Regions from separate parts of the Homo sapiens genome. Here all the other regions are linked to region 2. Evidence: promoter capture Hi-C in 16 types of primary human blood cells and fetal thymus (Javierre and others, 2016). All regions are on one chromosome and are shown on one strand. The core of a region is centred on a gene start or on the middle of the fragment in contact, and the rest is flanking DNA. Distances in the headings are between cores, read along the strand shown.

Region 1 (3,566 bases), core at 507-3,006, 170 kb after region 2:
TGGAGGTGGGGTCTAGTGGGAGGTGTTTGGGTCATGGGGGTGGTTCACTCATCAATGGCTTGGTGCCCTCCCTGGGATAGTGAGTTCACCTCAGAGCTGATTGTTTAAAGGAGCCTAGGTCCTTCTCTCTGTCTCACTCCTTCTTTTGCCATGTGATATGCTGACTCCCCTTTTGCTGCCTTCTGCCCAGCGTAAAAGCTTATGGAGGGTGGGTATGGTGGCTCATGCCTGTAATCTCAACACTTTGGAAGGTCGAGGCAGGAGGATTGCTTGAGTCCAGGAGTTTGAGACCAGCCTGGGCAACATAGGGATACCCCATCTTTACAAAGAAATTAAAAATATGGCCGGGCACGGTTGCTCATGCCTGTAATCCCAGCACTTTGGGAGGCCAAGGTAGGTGCATCACCTGAGGTCAGGAGTTCGAGACCAGCCTGGCCAACTTGGTGAAACCCCATTTCTACTAAAAGTATAAAAATTAGCCAGGTGTGGTGGCGGGCACCTGTAATCCCAGCTACTTGGGAGGCTGAAGTAGGAGAATCGCTTGAACCCAGAAGGCGGAGGTTGCAGCGAACAGAGATCGTGCCATTGCACTCCAATATGGGTGACAGAGCAAGACTCTCTCTCAAAAAAAAAAAAAAAAAAAAAAAAGCCTGGTGCGGTGGCTCACGCCTGTAATCCCATCACTTTGGGAGGCTGAGGCGGGTGGATCACGAGGTCAGGAGATCGAGACCATCCTGGCTAACATGGTGATACTCCGTCTCTACTAAAAATACAAAAAATTGGCCGGGCGTGGCGGCGTGCGCTTGTAGTCCCAGCTACTCAGGAGGCTGAGGCAGGTGAATGGTGTGGACCCGGGAGGCAGAGCTTGTAGTGAGCTGAGATCGTGCCACTGCATTCCAGGCTGGGCGACAGAGCGAGACTCCGTCTCAAAAAAAAAAAAAAAGTTATGTAAATGGAATCATACAGTAGGTAACCTTTTGGGACTGACTTTTTTTACTCAACATAATCAGAGTTTATTTTGAAAGATGTTAGAAGGTGGCATTTAAGGTTTCAAAACTATAGAAGGGGACAGAGTAATGTTATGAATATTTGTGTACCACAATATTGTTTTTGCTTAAGTTTTTTTTTTTTTTTTTTTTTTTTAGTTATGTAGCATACTATAATGGAAATTCAAGTTCTTGCTAGTTCCTTGTCTACTTTTTTTTTTTTTTTTTTCTCAGACAGAGTCTCGCTCTGTCGCCCAGGCTGGATTGCTGTGGTGCGATCTCGGCTCACTGCATCCTCTGACTCCCGGGTTCAAGTAATTCTCAGACTCAGCCTCCCGAGTAGCTGGGATTACAGGTGCCAGCCACCGTGCCCAGCTAATTTTTTTGTATTTTTAATAGAGACGGGGTTTCACCTTCTCGGACTCCTGACCTTGTGATCCACCTGCCTTGGCCTCCCAAAGTGCTGGGATTGCAGGTGTTAGCCACTGTGCCCAGCCTATTTTTTTTAATATTAGAGGGTCCTGCTGTCAGCCAGGGTCACCCAGGCTGAAGTACAGTGGCGCAGTCACAGGTCACTGCCCCTTCAACCTCCTGGGCTCAAGCAGTCCTCTCGAATCAGTCTCTTGAGTAGGTGGGACTATAGGCACGTGCCACCACAGCGGGCTAATTATTTTCTTATTTTTAGAGACTGAGTCTTGCTGTGTTGCTCAGGGTGATCTCAATCTCCTGGGGCCAAGTGATCTTCTTGCTTCACTCTCCTAAAGTGCTGAGATTATAGGTGTGAGTCACTACACCAGGCCTGGAATACAATTTTTTTTTTTTCCTTTTTGGAGTTTTCCTCTGTCCTCCAGGTTGGAATGCAGTGGTGTGATCTCAGCTCACTGCAACCTCCACCTCCTGGGCTTAAACAATTTGTGCCTCAGCCTCTCCAGTAGCTGGAATTACAGATGCCTGCCACCATCTGGCTTTTTTTTTTTTTTTTTCTTTTGAGACGGAGTCTCGCTCTTTCGCCCAGTGGCATGATCTTGGCTCACTACAAGCTCCGCCTGCCGGGTTCACGCCATTCTCCTGCCTCAGCCTCCTGAGTAGCTGGGACTACAGGCGCCCGCCACCACGCCCAGCTAATTTTTTCTGTTTTTTTAGTAGAGACGGGGTTTCACCGTGTTAGCCAGGATGGTCGTGATCTCCTGACCCCATGATTCGCCTGCCTCAGCCTCCCAAAGTGCTGGGATTACAGGCGTGAGCCACCGCGCCCGGCCAATTTTTGTATTTTTAGTAGAGACAGGGTTTTGCTATGTTGCCAGGCTCGTCTTGAACTCCTGGCCTCAAGTGATCTGTCTGCCTTGGCCTCGGAATGCTGGGATTACAGGCGTGAGCCACTGAGCCCAGCCTGTTAGTACCTTTTTTTTTTAAGATGGAGTCTCGCTCTGTTGCCAGGCTGGAATGCAGTGGCACGGTTTTGGCTCACTGCAACCTCCGCTTCCCAGGTTCAAGTGATTCTCCTGCCTCAGCCTCCTGAGTAGCTGGGACTACAGGCATGTGCCACCACACCCAGCTGATTTTTGTATTTTTAGTAGAGACGGGGTTTCACAAAGTTGGCCAGGATGGTCTCGATCTCTCTTTTTTTTTTTTTTTTTTTTTTTGAGACAGGGTTTTGCTCTTGTTGCCTGTGCGATCTCAGCTCAACAGCAACCTCCGCCTCCCGAGTTCAAGCCATTCTCCTGCCTCAGCCTCCAGAATAGCTGGGATTACAGGCATGCGCCACCACACCCGGCTACTTTTGTATTTTTAATAGAGATGGGGTTTCTCCATGTTGGTCAGGCTGATCTTGAACTCCGGACCTCAGGTGATCCGCCAGCCTCAGCCTCCCAAAGTGCTGGGATTACAGGCGTGAGCCACCGCGCCTGGCCTGGTCTTGATCTCTTGACCACATGGTCCGCCCACCTGGCCTCACAAAGTGCTGGGACCGTGCCTGGCCGCGTTTCTTAAATAAACAGTGAAAATTGAGTTGGTTATAAATATCTGAAGTTTTGTTTGTGTTTTTTTAATATTTGTTTAAAAGTCACCTCTGTCATCTTATCAAATATTTTCATTTTGGAGATTGAATTTGTGGTGGCAGTTCTATATACCTCACTTTTATTTCTCCATTTTCCTTCTTCAGGAAGAATACAGAAATTCCATGCCTGCATCCAGTTTTCAGCAGCAAAAGCTGCGTGTCTGCGAGGTCTGTTCAGCCTACCTTGGTCTCCATGACAATGACCGTCGCCTGGCAGACCACTTCGGTGGCAAGTTACACTTGGGGTTCATTCAGATCCGAGAGAAGCTTGATCAGTTGAGGGTATGTTCATCTGTTTCTGGAGAAAGCTGAGGAGTCTTGGGGTGTTTTCACATTTCTTTAATTTTTAAAAACCTTATGTTTTGGCCGGGCGTGGTGGCTGATGCCTATAATCCCAGCACTTTGGGAGGCCGAGGTGGGCGAATCACCTGAGGTCAGGAGTTCGAGACCAGCCTGACCAACATGGTGAAACCCCGTCTCTACCGAAAAATTAGCCAGGTGTGTTGGTGTGAGCCTGTAATCTT
Region 2 (2,753 bases), core at 1-2,500:
TGAGATCCCTCTGCAGATCCCAGCTGCTGTCTGCAGTGGCCCCTGGGGCCTGGGCTTGGTTACTTGGAGACCACAGGTGCCTGTGCGAGGGTGGGGCTGTGTGCTCTGCTGGCCTGTGGGTGGCTAGAGATGGGGAGAAGGACTCCCTATGGTCCTGTTCCCTGGCGAGGCTGTGGTGAGACCCATGGCGCCCAGGAGCCCTGAGCCCACCACTGGGGCCGGGAGCTGTGGACTCCGAGACCCCTGCTCCTGGCCCCTGTGTGGCCCTGATGCCAGCCTGCCTGGGGCATGGAGGATCCCCCTCTGCTGCTGTGGTCACCATAGGGACGGGAGACGGAGGTTTCCCCCAGAGCTGATGGGCACTGGGGATGCAGGCTCCCGCCCCGCCCCTCCCTTTTTCCTGGCTCTGGAGCCTTGGGTCCCTGAGAAGAGCTTCCTTGGACTGGGGTGCTCTGCTGCTCTGGGGGTTTGGCCCAGAAGGAACCCCTACCCAGCCCTGTCCACCCACCCCAGCGTTCCTGGGCCCCCCTCTGGGAGCTTCCTCTTGGTCCCAGGAGCTGCGGTGGTGTCTGCCCCCTGCACTGGGCTCTGTGCCCTGTGGGTGTTCAGGAGACTGGACTGTCTCTGCTCCTCATGCAAACCTTGTGGGGGAAGCAATGACCAGGAGCAGCACCTGGCCCCTCCCTGAGGCCTGTGAGTGTCTCGGATCCGCCCTGGAGAAGTGAGTGGCTGAGACCCGGGTGGGGCCCTCCTACCCTTGGCTCTGGGGGCTTCCCTTCTGGGTCTTGTCCGGGATATGGCCTTCCTGAAGGTCTTACCTCCCCCAGCCGCCCTGCACTTGACCACCAAAGCAATCTCTAAGCTTATAAAGGAGAAACATATATATATGGGGTTTTTTGGAGTAAAGGAAAATTCTAAGATATTAAGACATATTTTTATGTAGATCTGATCTATCTGTGTTTGGTGAATTTAATATTCTACATTGATTTTTCAAACTAAACGAGTTTTTACATTTTTTCTGTGCTCCTTCCCGGGTAGGGTAAGTGGGGCCCGGGAGAACAAGCACCGCCCCGCCCGTGCCGCCCTTCGCGGAAACGCCGGGGCCGCACGTAGCTAACGGTGCCTTGAGCTGCTGCTGCTGTATGTGGGGTGTTTTTTACGGTCCCTAAAGACGGAAGCGGGGCGGGACGAGGGGGTAGACGGATGGCTTTTACAGCCAGTCAGCGGTGGGAGGAGGGCCAGGCGCGGCAGATCGGCTTCCGGTTCCGGTGGGCTCTGAACCCTGAAAGGTGGGCGCGGGCAGGTGGGGTGTGGGGGGGCGCCGGGGCAGAAGGGGAGGGGCAGGTGGGTGCGGGACAGGGGCCGGAGTGAGAACCGGGGGCCGGGGTAGGGGGTAGCGGGTGAGAGCCGGGGGCCGGGGTAGCGGGTGAGAGCCGGGGGCCGGGGTAGCGGGTGAGAGCCGGGGGCCGGGGTAGCGGGTGAGAGTCGGGGGCCGGGGTAGGGGGTGAGTGCCGGGGGCCTGGCCAGGCTGCGACTGACTGCGAGCCCCCACCTCCCGCCAGGCTCGCGATGCCTCTACACAAGTATCCCGTGTGGCTCTGGAAGCGGCTGCAGCTGCGGGAGGGCATCTGTTCCCGCCTGCCCGGCCACTACCTGCGCTCCCTGGAGGAGGAGCGGACGCCCACTCCCGTGCACTATAGGCCTCATGGGGCCAAGTTCAAGATCAACCCCAAGAACGGGCAGCGGGAGCGTGTGGAGGACGTGCCCATTCCCATCTACTTTCCCCCCGAATCCCAGCGGGGGTTGTGGGGCGGCGAGGGCTGGATCCTGGGCCAAATATATGCCAACAACGACAAGGTGGGTCCGCAGGCGGCCTTCAGGGGCTCCTCTCAGGGCTTGGCTGTGCCGGCTCTGTGCCGGACGCCCGGGGTACCTGGAGAGACCTGGGTGGGCCCTGGGGATTACAGCCTGGAGGCGACACATCTCCGGCAAAGGAGCACGCTGAGTGAAGAACCGCAGTTCTGGCAAACAGGACTGATAAAGTAGGGGTGAGGTGGGGTGACTCAGGCCGGGGGAGCAACCAGAGGCCGTGGGGAGTCGGGGTAAAGTTAGGATGGGGAGGAGGCCTGTGTGATGAGCAGAGCAGGTGGGAGAGGCGAGCAGAGCAGGTGGGGGAGGCGAGCAGAGCTTCGAGGCTGCTTGTGGTGGACTTCCTGGCGGGACTGCTGAAGCCTGTGGGGAGACTTGTGTCACCTCCAGGTTGGAATGTGACAACCTGTAAACTGTGGGGTCGCACATGTTTCTGAAACACATGCAGCAACCATGTGACCAGGGCGGGAACGCCCAGCTTGTTGGGGAGCAGCTGACTTCTGGGTACACAGTCAGGACCCGGGTCGGGCTGGGGCGGCACTGGGCTGGGGGCCGGCCCAGTTAGCTCTAGGTCCCCAGTCTGACAGCAGTGGTTCTGTGATGGAGCCTCCGGGGGGGAGGTGAGGGCAGTTGCCTGGGCCCCCCTTGGTATGTAAGAGAAAGCAGCAGTACTCATGGAGGCTCTGTTGCACCCTCAGCTCTCCAAGAGGCTGAAGAAAGTGTGGAAGCCACAGCTGTTTGAGCGAGAGTTCTACAGTGAGATCCTGGACAAGAAGTTCACAGTGACTGTGACCATGCGGACCCTGGACCTCATCGATGAGGCTTATGGGCTCGACTTTTACATCCTCAAGGCAAGCGGGGTGGGGCGAGTCAGTGCACACAGG
Region 3 (3,596 bases), core at 885-3,384, 230 kb after region 2:
GACTTGCTCTCGTTAAAATGGTTATCTTTACGTGATGCAAATTTTATCTCAAAGTGAAGAGAGTCTCCTAGACCACATTTTTTTTTTTTTTTTGAGACAGGGTCTCAGTGTCTCGCCCAGATTGGAGTGCAGTGGCGCCATCTTGGCTCACCGCAACCCTCTACCTCCCAGGCTCAAGCGATTCTCCTACCTCAGCCTCCCAAGTAGCTGGGATTACAGGTACATGCCACTACCACCCGGCTAACTTTTTTTTTTTTTTTTTTTTTGAGACGGAGTCTCTCTCTGTCTCCCAGGCTGGAGTGCAATGGCGCGATCTCAGCTCACTGTACCTCCGCCTCCTGGGTTCAAGCGATTCTCCTGCCTCAGCCTCCCGAGCAGCTGGGATTACAGGCACGTAGCACTACACCCGGCTAATTTTTTGAATCTTTAGTAGAGACGGGGTTTTACCACGTTGGTCAGGTGGTCAGGCTGGTCTCGAACTCCTGACCCTGTGATCCGCCCGCCTCAGCCTTCCAAAGTGCTGAGATTACAGGCATGAGCCACAGTGCCCGGCCACTAGACCACATTTCTAAAAGCTTTACAGTGTGGTCTTTTGCGTTTGGTGACAGTCAACCTTGGGTTGACTGTGTTGAGGGGAGTCCATGTCTGTTTGGCTGGCATCTGTTGAGCACTTTCTAAGTTCTGCACATGGCAGCAACACTCTTCATTCTGGGTGCTTTATCCTCACAACCACCCTGTGAGGGAGGGTTTATTTTATTGTCATTAGTTGGGTTTTTTGTTTGTTTGTTTTGTTATGTTTTGTTTTGTTACAGGGTCTTCTTACTCTGTCCTCCAGGCTAGAGTGCAGTGTGACAATCTTGGCTCACTGCAGGCTCAACTTCCCAAGCTCAGGTGATCCTCCCACCTCAGCCTCCTGAGTAGCTGGGACTATAGGCATGTGCCACTATGCCTGGGTAATATTTGTGTTTTTAGTAGAGATGGCGTTTTGCCATGTTGCCCAGGCTGGCCTCAAACTCCTGAGCTCCAGTGATCCACCCACCTCGGCCTCCTAAAGTGCTTGGGATTACAGGCGTGAGCCACTGCACATGGGCATCATTACATTGGAAAGATAAGGAAACGGAGGCTCCAGGAGGTTATGAAACATGTCTGAGGCTTCCATGGAGCAGGAAACAAGCCCTGATGGTTTGTGTGGGCTGGGAGTCCGGCTGGGGCTGGGGCTTGTCCCTTCCTGTCCCTGGGCCTTGGTTTGAGCCCCAGCCTGTGCAGTGAGTGTGGAATGCTGGTGTCCACTGGTGGTTTCTGGCCTGAATTCCAAGCTCCAGGCACGTTCTGTGCCTGAGCAGCTGAGGCTGAGCTCAAAGGGTGTCTGGCCACTTACAAGCCACTGGACACTCAGCAGAATGCCGGATTGGGCATCTGCAAACTCTCCCATGAGAGTGGACCCTCGGTGACCCTGAACAGGCTAATTTGCCTTGTGAGTCCTAGTTTCACTGTTTTCACCTCTAGGATGGGGATTAGACTAGCCCCCACCTCAGTGTTGGGAGGGCGCTCAGGAACTTGCAGCATGAATTTTAAATTATTTCTATTACTACTGTGTGTGAGTGGTTCTCCCTGGTGGGGCAGCAACACTCAGCTGAGAAGGTGGAGGTGTCCAGGCAAGTCCCAGATAGCGTCTGTGAACCCCACCCGGCCCTCCTGCAGATGGCGGTGGCCCTTTGAGGCCCAGACCAAGTGGCAGGACCGATAAGGCCTCCTATCCTGCCAAGGGCAGGCCCAGGCTGGGAGGAAGGGTCAGGGGTTTCAGTTTCCAAAAATCTACTTACCGTCAAAAAAGCAGGTCATGAAACAGCTATTTAAAGGTAAAATGAGGAGACTTGGAGGTGTGGGGTCTTAGCAGAGAAGAGCCTGAGGATGTCCCCTGTAGCAAATGGAGGTTGGCCCTGGTGCTTCATTGTCCAGGAGACCCTGGGAGAACTTAGAGCTGGGACTCACTCAGGGACCATCTGCTCTGAACCCTGTTACTGGTGGGGAAACTGAGGTCCAAAGCAAGGCCCACTGACCCTCAGGCCAGCGTGTGACAATGATGTCTCATTTCTGTCACAGCCAATGAGGTGCAAACATGGACATGAGGGTGGCGCTGGGATCCAGAGTGCTGCTTCGAGGGCAGGGACGCACCCAGGACCTCTGTGGGCTGGGGTCATGGTGAGCTCCCTGCACTTTCACCAGTTCGAGCTCTCATTATGACTGACGATAGTCAGAAGAATGAACAATGAGTGCCAGGGTTACTGGCAGGAGGCCAACCCTGAGAGGGTAACCGGGGGAACAGTGGGATCCTTTGAGCCCAGAGATGTCCAGTCTGGAGCCCCAAGGTTCTGCCCATTGGGGCAGCAGCACGATTAGGTCAGAAGAGCGAGACCTGAGTCACAGTCCTGCTCCATTCGCATGGTCGCTGTGAGGGTCCCTGTGAGGAGGCCTCCATTACCACCACCGGCCACTGCCCTGGGTTCCCCCACCCCCATCTGTCCCATCTCACCCCTCCAGCCTCAAGCCCTGCTCCTGCAGTCTCATTTCCATCCCAGAGGCACTCCTGGGAAGTGCGGGAGAACTCACAAACCTTTTGATTATACATAAAATCAAAACATGGACAACGGGGATAAAGCCTTGCAAAATGTGTAGCAGAGGTTATGTATTCCTCAGAAAGAACACAGCCAGACCATCCAAGAACAGACCACCTGTAAAGAAAACAAGAAAAGCAATTCTCTGCAAATAATTAAGTGATGCAGCTCTCCCTCTCAATCAAAGAAATGCAACATAGAACAAGACACCATTTTCCTTTCTGGGAATTTCAGGAAAAAAAAAAATGTTATGCAGGCCGGGCACGGTGGCTCACGCCTGTAATCCCAGCACTTTGAGAGGCCGAGGCGGGTGGATCAAGAGGTCAGGAGATCGAGACCATCCTGGCTAACGCGGTGAAACCCCGTCTCTACTAAAAATACAAAAAAATTAGCCGGACGTGGTGGCGGGCGCCTGTAGTCTCAGCTACTGGGGAGGCTGAGGCAGGAGAATGGTGTGAACCTGGGAGGTGGAGCTTGCAGTGAGCTGAGATCGTGCCACTGCACTCCAGCCTGGGCGACAGAGCAAGACTCCATCTCAAAAAAAAAAAAAAAATTAGCCTGGTGTGGTGGCGGGCACCTGTAGTCCCAGCTACTTGGGAGGCTGAGGCAGGAGAATGATGTGAACCTGGTAGGTGGAGCTTGCAGTGAACTGAGATTGTGCCACTGCCCTCCAGCCTGGGTGATAGAGCGAGACTCTGTCTCAAAAAAAAAAAAAAAATGTTATGCAGCCCTGTGCAAGAAAACGCACCTGTTGGTACTGTTGAGCCATTTCAAATGCACGTACCCTTCACCCTGGTGAGGCCAATCCACAAATTTGTTCTGCAAAATACACATTAGTGTCAGTGTTGGTGCAAGAGGGTTACTTGCAACAGTGAAAATGCTCATCCCTCAGTCAAGTGGTTAGGTTCTGATGCATTTGATGTGCTTGGGAAAGTTCTGGAAGCAGCCAAAGAAGCTCATTACCTTTAGTTACCTCCTGGG

Evidence for each region. The method cuts DNA at HindIII sites, captures the fragments that hold promoters and counts their contacts. A CHiCAGO score of 5 or more calls a contact.
Region 1: a fragment that was not itself captured here is called in contact with the fragment with the promoter of MRPL28 in region 2 in 1 of 17 cell types (M2 macrophages); the score reaches 5.0 in M2 macrophages.
Region 3: a fragment that was not itself captured here is called in contact with the fragment with the promoter of MRPL28 in region 2 in 7 of 17 cell types (naive CD8 T cells, total B cells, total CD8 T cells and 4 more); the score reaches 7.2 in naive CD8 T cells.

What each region holds. Positions count from the first base shown.
Region 1 is chr16:198,820-202,385 of GRCh38, reverse strand. LUC7L (LUC7 like) reads left to right here. Exons shown (of 10, transcript NM_201412.3): 6 at 3,148-3,324. Among named protein-coding and RNA genes, the nearest start is that of HBQ1, 20 kb to the right of the region's middle. The HindIII fragment of the contact is 3,111 bases long and covers 201-3,311 here.
Region 2 is chr16:369,035-371,787 of GRCh38, reverse strand. It overlaps MRPL28 (mitochondrial ribosomal protein L28), which reads left to right and starts at 1,250. Exons shown (of 6, transcript NM_006428.5): 1 at 1,250-1,289; 2 at 1,563-1,857; 3 at 2,568-2,720. The coding sequence starts at 1,570. It overlaps PGAP6 (post-GPI attachment to proteins 6), which reads left to right. Exons shown (of 13, transcript NM_021259.3): 13 at 1-1,000. The HindIII fragment of the contact is 7,915 bases long and covers 865-2,753 here.
Region 3 is chr16:141,317-144,912 of GRCh38, reverse strand. No RefSeq gene overlaps it. Among named protein-coding and RNA genes, the nearest start is that of NPRL3, 4.4 kb to the right of the region's middle. RefSeq lists cis regulatory regions at 1-56, 1,440-1,958. The HindIII fragment of the contact is 3,114 bases long and covers 578-3,596 here.